Linked DNA regions of Homo sapiens: region 2 is linked to region 1. Evidence: promoter capture Hi-C in 16 types of primary human blood cells and fetal thymus (Javierre and others, 2016). All regions are on one chromosome and are shown on one strand. The core of a region is centred on a gene start or on the middle of the fragment in contact, and the rest is flanking DNA. Distances in the headings are between cores, read along the strand shown. Region 1 holds the start of FLJ46875 (a long non-coding RNA gene). Region 2 overlaps LOC124907897 (a long non-coding RNA gene).

What was found. Contacts are between HindIII fragments. The CHiCAGO score rates a contact against its expected background, and 5 or more counts as called.
Region 2: a fragment that was not itself captured here is called in contact with the fragment with the promoter of FLJ46875 in region 1 in 1 of 17 cell types (erythroblasts); the score reaches 5.2 in erythroblasts.

The regions. Positions count from the first base shown.
Region 1 is chr2:156,340,189-156,344,533 of GRCh38, forward strand. It overlaps FLJ46875 (a long non-coding RNA gene), which reads right to left and starts at 1,932. Exons shown (of 1, transcript NR_147695.1): 1 at 1-1,932. RefSeq lists enhancers at 837-1,392, 1,393-1,946, 3,154-3,213 and silencers at 1,494-1,593, 2,134-2,743. The HindIII fragment of the contact is 3,407 bases long and covers 1,237-4,345 here.
Region 2 is chr2:156,794,128-156,798,329 of GRCh38, forward strand. The region is part of intron 1 of LOC124907897 (a long non-coding RNA gene); the gene reads left to right. Among named protein-coding and RNA genes, the nearest start is that of LINC01958, 130 kb to the left of the region's middle. The HindIII fragment of the contact is 2,579 bases long and covers 1,389-3,967 here.

The DNA.
Region 1 (4,345 bases), core at 682-3,181:
GTGCCAGAAGCAAAAAGTTTTAAAAGTATGTCTCTACCTTTCAGATATCCCTTAGTAGGTAAAAGTAAACATAAAGTTTAGAAATTCTAGTAAGTTATTTTACTTTTTGCCCTTAAAGTATTGTCTTCCCGTGTGATCTATCTGTATTAGTGAATAGAAAATAAAGGATACAGTAAGACAACCACGTTTATAATCTGAAATTAAAGGCAATCAATTAAAACATTTTATTAGTCACCAGGATATTTAAAAATGAGACCTGTGAAATATTGCAGAATCACTCCACTAGGAGAGAAGCAGCAACTTAAGTATGCTGTCACTGACATGTTGGGAGGAAAAAGCAAACTACCAGTACCACCATGTACATGATTCAAATTAAGCTACATAAATAGTGAGTGCATGGGGTTGTGGGTACAGAAACTGGTTCGCTGAGGAGGTGCTACTTACATTTCCTGTATTTCATATTTCTGAGAACTGTCTTCTGTAATTTCCAAAGTGTAGGAATGGTTGAAGTTTGAAAATAAATGGAGAATTTCAAATAGTTAATGAATAGATTTAGGAGCTATACTGAAACAACTAGCAGAAAATACATTTTCTGGAGTTCTTTAATTTTGTACGCTTAAAAGTATGGTGTTCCTAAAGATGGCTAATTCTTGTTGAAGTAAGTAGCTCTGGAAGTCATATTTTCCATTTCTCCATACTTCATCTATTAATCAGTTGACTGGCAATTTCCGACACCAGTTTTGCTAAACTTTATAAATTTTGCTTCCTCCAGAGGTAGGAGGGGGAAGGAGATGGGCAATACAGAAACAGATTTTACAGCCAGAATATGACAGGGCCCCTTAAACTACAAATAGATGTAGAATTTTAAATGTAGCTCTGTAGTTCAATTTATACCACAGAAATTGCGAGATGCTATCTTCCTGTTGTTATAACGTATCAGGTCAAGGGATATAAATTGTACCAGGTAATTCATTTTGCTGTTCAGAGAGTCATTAAGTTCCTCCCAGAATATATGTGATTGATATCCCTGGAGGTGAAAGGCTAAAGGAACCATATGGCAACATGTTGCATTCCGTATGCTATCTGCCCATCCGTGCTTAAGCTGTCATTAGCAACATCTGTACCTTACGGAAATCCAGCTGCGCCGACGACGGCTGACGGAATTGTACTTGGGGGGAAAATCTAGCTTAGCGCCATTAACTTGAGACTTAGAGTCTATCTACCAGGACGGATGGAAGCTTTCACAATTAGACGAGACGACACGAATGCTTTATTAAAGTTTAATTTTGAACTCCCAATTAGCGAAAGTGCATTACAAATCGATTGCAATTTCCTAGAAGGTGCAGCAAGTTCTCTGCCTGCCTGCCACGTGCGAGACGCTCCACAGCGAGCTTCCCCAGCTCCGGGCAGCAGAAAGGGGATGGTTCAGAGCCGATCTCCGCATCCCAGGAAGTCCCTAAAATCCGCGCCAGCCCCTCCTCCCGCAGGGCGGGGGCGTCCACGGCGCGAACCCGCCAGAGGTGTAGGGGGAAGTGTGGGGGGCTGGTCCGCAGCCTTCGAGGGGTGGGGCGACAGGAGCGAGCGGCCGGGGGAGGAGAAAAAGGCGGGCGGCGGGAGAGGGGGCCTCTATTATCTCGGCTTCTCGGGAGGAGCCTCATCTAGTCAGTCACGCAGAAGTTTCTCTTTCGCTCTTCGCGCTACACACCCAGATTGGCTTCCAGCGCGCAGGCGAGTGGGGCGAAGGAGGGGGGACAGGAGTCCCGGAAGGGCCGTCCGGCGTTCACACCCACCCCTGTTCCGCTCCTCCCGCCCCAAACAAAGTCCCCCGACTCTAGGTCCAGGATACGTTACCTGCCCGGCGCTCCCGGCCCCTCGGTCACCGCATCCCCCGCTGGGCGCGCCTGGTACGGGTCCCGCTCCCCGGGGCTCACAAAGTGGTCGCCCCTGGCTGGGCGGCTGGGTAGATGCCCCTCTCTGGACATGTTGGGGCGGTTTTTGGGGTGGAGGGAACGCGGGAAGTGAAAGCGGAGGCTGGGACAAGGGGAACTTACTGATAAAATGGAAAAAAAAAAAGCCCACAGGGCCCAGGTCCTGGCCGGGGGCGAAAGAGGCCTGTTACCTTTCGGGGGGTCGCGGCCGACCAAGAAGGGAGCCGGGGAGTCGCCCGCCCCCCTCCCCCGGCCCCCGGCCCCCGGCCCCCGGCGGCTGCGGCAGCTGCACACAGAAGCCCATTGTCGCCGGCGTCCGGCGCGCAGCCCCGCGGACTCGGCCCCGCGGCCAAGCGCGTCAGCGGCCCCGTCAGCCGGGCCGGGCTCCGTGACGCGCGCGCAGCCCGCGCTATAAATAACCTGCCGCCGGGCGGCTCGGGCGGCTTTCCAGTGACGCTGGGGCGGAGGCGCGGTAGGAGGAGGGCGAAAGGAAACAATAAAACCGCCCGGCAGCCTCCCAAGTCTCCCTCCTCCCTTCCCAGGCCGCCCGCGGCCCTTCGCGTCGAGCTCCTTTTTCCCCGCCCCGGCCCGCCCTGCGGGGAGCGCGGTTCGCGGGTGGGAAGGAGCCCGGCGTGCTGGCGTCCCCGAGTGCTGCCGGGGCCCCGGGGCGGGAGGGGGTTTTTCCCGCACCCTGGGATGGCGAGGAGGGAACTTGGCGACAAGTTTAGTGAGGGGATCGCTGTGTTCCTTTCTAGTCCAGTTAAAATGACCCGAGCTTTTCCCGCTCCCTCACACACCTATTCTAGTACAGGTCGGATGTGTTTTTGGGGTAGTAAGTCCTCAACCGAAAACAAAAGCGAAAAACCTGTCGTCTTCAACGTAAGCATTATCTAGGTTTTTGTGGGGCCAGGCTTGCATTAGTGTTTTCATTCGGGGGGTTGTATTATAGAAAGGGTGCCCCGTAGTAGCAGCGTGAGGAAGGGTTCCAGGACCCAGGCTGTCAGCTCCGGTGCATTTACAGGTCTTTTTGCCGTAGAATTTAGCATAGGCCTGAAACATGGCATAAATGAACTTTCTAAAAGTCTATAATCTCAACGTTAAAGAGCTTACTTTTTAACTCTGGACTTTAATAAAGGCTCCCACTTTAAAAGGGGCTTTCTCTATAGGAAAGTATTAATATTTTTGTGGAGACTCTCACTGCTACCTTCCATACTCAGGCAATTCTGTCACACACCCTGACACTTGTCCTACTCATTAAGGTACCCACATACAACTGGAGGTAATCTGTTTTCTTGGACCAACAATTAATAGACTATAAAACTGTATTTCGTCTTGAGCAAAATGTCTCAGCTATGAACATGTTTTCTGAGGTTCTGATATAGACATAGATAAAAATTTGCAGATGCAAGCAAGGTGTTGCAGTGACTTGGCATGGTTAGAGTGAGTTACTAGTGTTGGGGGAAATGGTTCTTAGTTCACTAGTGAGGCAAAGTGGTATAGTAGAAGGTTCTCTGAGCTGGGGTTTAGAAGATAAAGAAATTTGAGTTTTAATTATGTCTTCACTGTACTTTTCTGTGCCACCTTGCAGAAACCACGGCCTTTCTCTGCCGCACTTTCTTCATTAACATTAAGGACTGATAGTTCCTTTTCTACCCTTACATTCTAGGATGTTAAAGGATATTGTGTCCAGGGATAAAGTTTTATCAAATAAACATAAGCACCCAGTGTCTCATGGGAGACAGGTAACAAATGTAGATTAATTTGGTGTTCTGACATTTTAAAATTTTGTACATCTTAAAATATATTAGGGCCACTTCAGGAAAATAATGAATTAAAATATACCATTAAAACTATTTTAAGAGGAAAAACTAGTCACAGTCTGCCTCATTTACAGGACAGCAGACATATTTACAGTCTAATGATGTCACAGGCCCTTTCCAACACCACGTTTTCTCATGTGAGCAAATGGATTATGGGTAGCAAAATGCAATGAGATCACTTTCTCCAATTTTGCTCCCATTTCTGGTTTGTGTGGTTTTTAAAAGGAATGTTTCCGTTGAAAGACACTGAATTGTTTATCACTAAGTGGTGTTATTGAGACAAGGGAAAGTTTTCTGATTTATCAGTCAGAATATGCTTTATTCTTCTTTCTTCAGGTTGGTGAATCAGAAAACATAAAAGTGGCAAAATAAGTTTAGAGCCAAAACATTTGCTTCATATAGTCACCGCCAAAGTGTGATCACAACTAAAAGTTAACCAATATTTTTCCAGTTCCAAAAGCACATCTGTCTCTCTTTCCCATAAAATGTTTGATATGTCTAATTTAACTTAGCCTTAAGGTTCTTTCTTCTGCTCCTTATAAAGAGGTATTTTTCTTTCACTGCTATTTTCCTGAAACACTGAGCTTCTCTCATAAT
Region 2 (4,202 bases), core at 1,428-3,927, 450 kb after region 1:
CTCAGCCAGCTCCCCTCTTGACATCACATTGGCTGACAGCAGCTTTCAGCTCTAGGTGCTTTCTTGATTTACTTCAGCAAAGAAAAAATACAATGCTTTTGTCTCAATATTTTTAGTAAAATTCTGAAACCTAGTGTGATCGAACCAACTTAGGACCCATGCTCACTTCTAAAGCAGTAACTCAACCAGGGGGATGAAATGCACTGATTAATCTAGTCTTAAACAAGCCTCCATGCTTGATCTGAGGAAGGCGTGAACTTACCTAGAAGCACGTAAATATCTCATTGGAAATAAGGTTCCAGGTGATAGAAAAAAGGGAAATGCATGCTGAAACAGCAACCAACATTCACTCTACCTGGCCTGATAGCTAGCTTTCCCTGATGGGAAAGTAAACAAGTGAAATTTCATTTGGTGGTAGGTGTATTTTCATATTTGCATTAAAAATACCCTAAGGGGAAAAAGTAAGGACATTCTGGAGGTAAGATTTAAGATGACAGACAGAAAGAGAGCTGAAGAGTTCCTAAAATCTAAAATCAAACTTGGTTCAGAAATATGGGAAGCACCCTTACTTATTTGAAAAATATTTTGGGATTGAAAAATAAATTTAATTATACAAATACTTTTACTTAAAAAATAAAATACTTCATATTGTGTGGGTGCTGTTATCCTTCTGAAACAAAGACACAATCCTGTTTTTCCTCTAATCAGAAACATTTCGTGATGACCCATTGCTTATAGGGTAAAATCTAAACTCCTTAACAAGAGGGTTTCCACACAATCTATCTCTAATATTTCTATCTTTAATTTCTTCAGTTCATTCTGCCCTTCCCCACCTCACGTTCTTGCCTCTGTGAACTCTGCACTTTTCTCCTTCCCAGACCCGCCAACCATTTTCGTAAGTTCTTGCCTTTACTTATTTGTGTCTTTACCTGGGACACACCTCTCCTCTATTTAGCCTCATACCTCACCCCATGCTTCTGATTCTATGAGGCAGGAGGCCCCTTTCTGCTTTTGTGCCATGGTTATCACACTTATCCCCTTCACAGTGTTATTACTGGTTGCCTCTTATTTTACTGTAAACTAGTTGAAGGTTGTGAAAATGTTTTATTCAGGTTTGTGTAGTCAGAACCCAAGACACAATAGTCTTTCAGTAAATGTATATAGTCAGTTAAATTTTAAGGCACTCAAGGATAACAGGAAACACTGCATTCAAGAAAGCATTTTTTTTTTAACATCAGGGATTATAAATTCAAATTACTGGTTTGACACAAATCATTGTAGATAGATAGATAGATAGATAATTTGGTTAGTTTTTTTAAATGAAATATTGTTGTTTTCAAATTTTACTGTTACATTAAATGTTTGTCCAAACAGGTCATATACTAGGAAGCTTCTTTGTTGAGGTAGAAGTTATAGGAGGAGTTATTTCTAGAATTAGCAGATTATTGAATTTGTTAAACATCTAGTTGCTTATAGTCAGGCACAAGAGTTATATTATAAAAAAGAAATATGTGAATGATGCATGTGTAGTTTTATGGGAAATTGCCAGCGATTTTGGGAAATACTATATATACAGTATTGGAGTTCAATGTAACATATAATCACAGTTTACTTGTCACTTGTCTACCTCTAGTCTTGGTAAGTAATACAAGATACAAGTAGAAAGAACCATAATGGGGTCAAACATTATTATTTGGGAGAAAGGGATTCAACTAATAACCGGGATATTCAATCTACCCACTGAGCCTCAGTGTCCCAGTTTATGAAATGAAAGCATTCCAAGAAAAGTCAATAAATTTTGTTCTCTGACATTTTGAAGCAACTTACTGAAACCTAAAACTTTGGGTAATTTGTTTTCCCTTCCAAAGATATCATCTCATGTCTTTAAAAATATTTTTCAGTGATATTGGCAGCATTCAATGTATTTCAGAACATTTTTATAATTTTTTAGAGAGTAGAACATAAAATTAACATATACTTAATAATGAAACAGAATCTTTATTTTGTGTGTGTGGTTTTTGTTTTGGAAACCAGTGAAAAATTACTCTTAATTTAATAAATAAACTGTTTAATATGGTTTGGACACAAAACTAAGGTGAAAATACAATTAGTGAGTCTTTTTAAAAGATGATACATATTTAAAGACGGCATATCTGGCTGGGCGTGGTGGCTCATGCCTGTAATCCCAGCACTTTGGGAGGCCAAGGCGGGCAGATCATGAGGTCAGGAGATCGAGGCCATCCTGGCCAACATAGTGAAACCTTGTCTCTGCTAAAAAATACAAAAATTAGCTGGACGTGGTGAACTGTGCCTGTAATCCTAGCTACTTGGGAGGCTGAGGCAGGAGAATTGCTTAAATTAGGGAGTCGGAGGTTGCAGTGAGTCGAGATCCTGCCACTGCACTCCAGCCTGGTGACAGAGTGAGACTCCGTCTCAAAACAAAACAAACAAACAAACAAAAAGTCATGTCTAACAGCGATTCAAGCATTTGATTCAAGCATTCATATCTAACATAGTGATTCAAGCATTTGAACATAATTTCAGCAAGTATATAGCCTTCAAAAATTTTACTGCTAAACGCAAGAAAGATATGGTTTGTTGAAAAATTAATTGACCTAATTCCCTGAGACTGAGGAAATATGAATATGGTTAAGAACAAAAGCTAAGTCATCTATGAGTTCAAATCTAAAATCTATTAAAAAGAAATAGTCACAGGGTTGTTATGAGGATTGAACAATATACATTCATTACAAAACACAATGCCTAGAATAGTCAGCCTTCAACAATTTTTGTTGTTGTTGTTGTTGTGATGAAGTCTCAGTCTGTCGTCCAAGCTGGAGTACAATGGCACTATCTTGGCTCACTACAAACTCCACCTCCTAGGTTCAAGCGATTCTCCTGCTTCAGCCTCCTGATTAGCTGGGATTACAGGTGCTCACCTTCATGCCTGACTAATTTTTGTATTTTTAATAGAGATGTGGTTTCACCATGTTGGCCAGACTGGTCTTGAACTCCTGACCTCAGGTGATCTGCCCGCCTTGGCCTCCCAAAGTGCTGGGATTACAGGCGTGAGCCACTGCACCCAGCCTCAACAAATGTTTTCTATTGATTATTATTACCTAATAATAATCACATAATCAGATAATATGTCAAGTTGTTACAGTTTGTTAAAGATGTTAATTTGTTCATCTGTCCTTAAATATTCATAAGTGGTTTATTGAAGCCATATAGATCAAGAAATGAAAAAACTGAAGCTGTATAAAATTCAGTGGTGTGGTCATGCCTAAACAAAATAAAAATTTTGCCTTTCAATGAAAACTTGTTCTTCATTAATAGGGCTGTGCTTTGAGAATTGGAAAAAGGACTAGCAGGGCCTAGCTTTTTCAGGAAGATAAAAAACTTAGCTTATGAGATATATTTAATTATATATTGTTTCACGATTCTTCAAAAACTGCCACATCTGTTGTTTCACATCACCCTCATAAGAATGTTGTGTAGTAATCAGAGTAGGCTTAAAATCTACTTTAACAATGGAAGAAATTGACACTTGGGGAGGATGTGACTTATTTAATGTTCAACGACTGGAATGAGGTGTAGCTAGATGGTCTTTGTCCTTTCATTGGGTTCTCTCCCATCAGTCCATCTTCACTGAGAAGAGATACTCAGTAAATGTATCCTGCTTGACTGACATAAATATATATATTTAAGAAATTTTAAAATTACAGGATATCAAACTTAGTAAAAAATCTCTAAGCTGTTTTAGAACATAAATGTACTCTACATTACTCCTCTGGTTTAGTGTCTTCAGTTGGCTAGAGTTGAGTTGGCTATGGTCCAATCTTGAAATGTTATTCTTCTTATGAGTGGCTGGGATAATCAGGCAATGAGGGCGAGCAACAGCACAATCTACTTATGGTACTTTGTGGTGCTTAGAGATAAGAGTCACTACAAGTCCCAAAGTATCATAAGCTTTGACTTCTGTAAATGCGAAAGGACCTTGCATAAGGCATTTCTAAGAGATTAAGTTGATTTTCTAAGTGAGAAATGGAACCTCAGAAGCAATAAAATTATGGAACTATTGAGGTTGGTTCTTAATCCAAATCAATAATTTAATCCTCATATAGGTTTAAGAATCAATGTTTTATTTTATTTTTAATATAAAAATCAATCTTTTGAGATGAACATAACCTTTACATGAATAT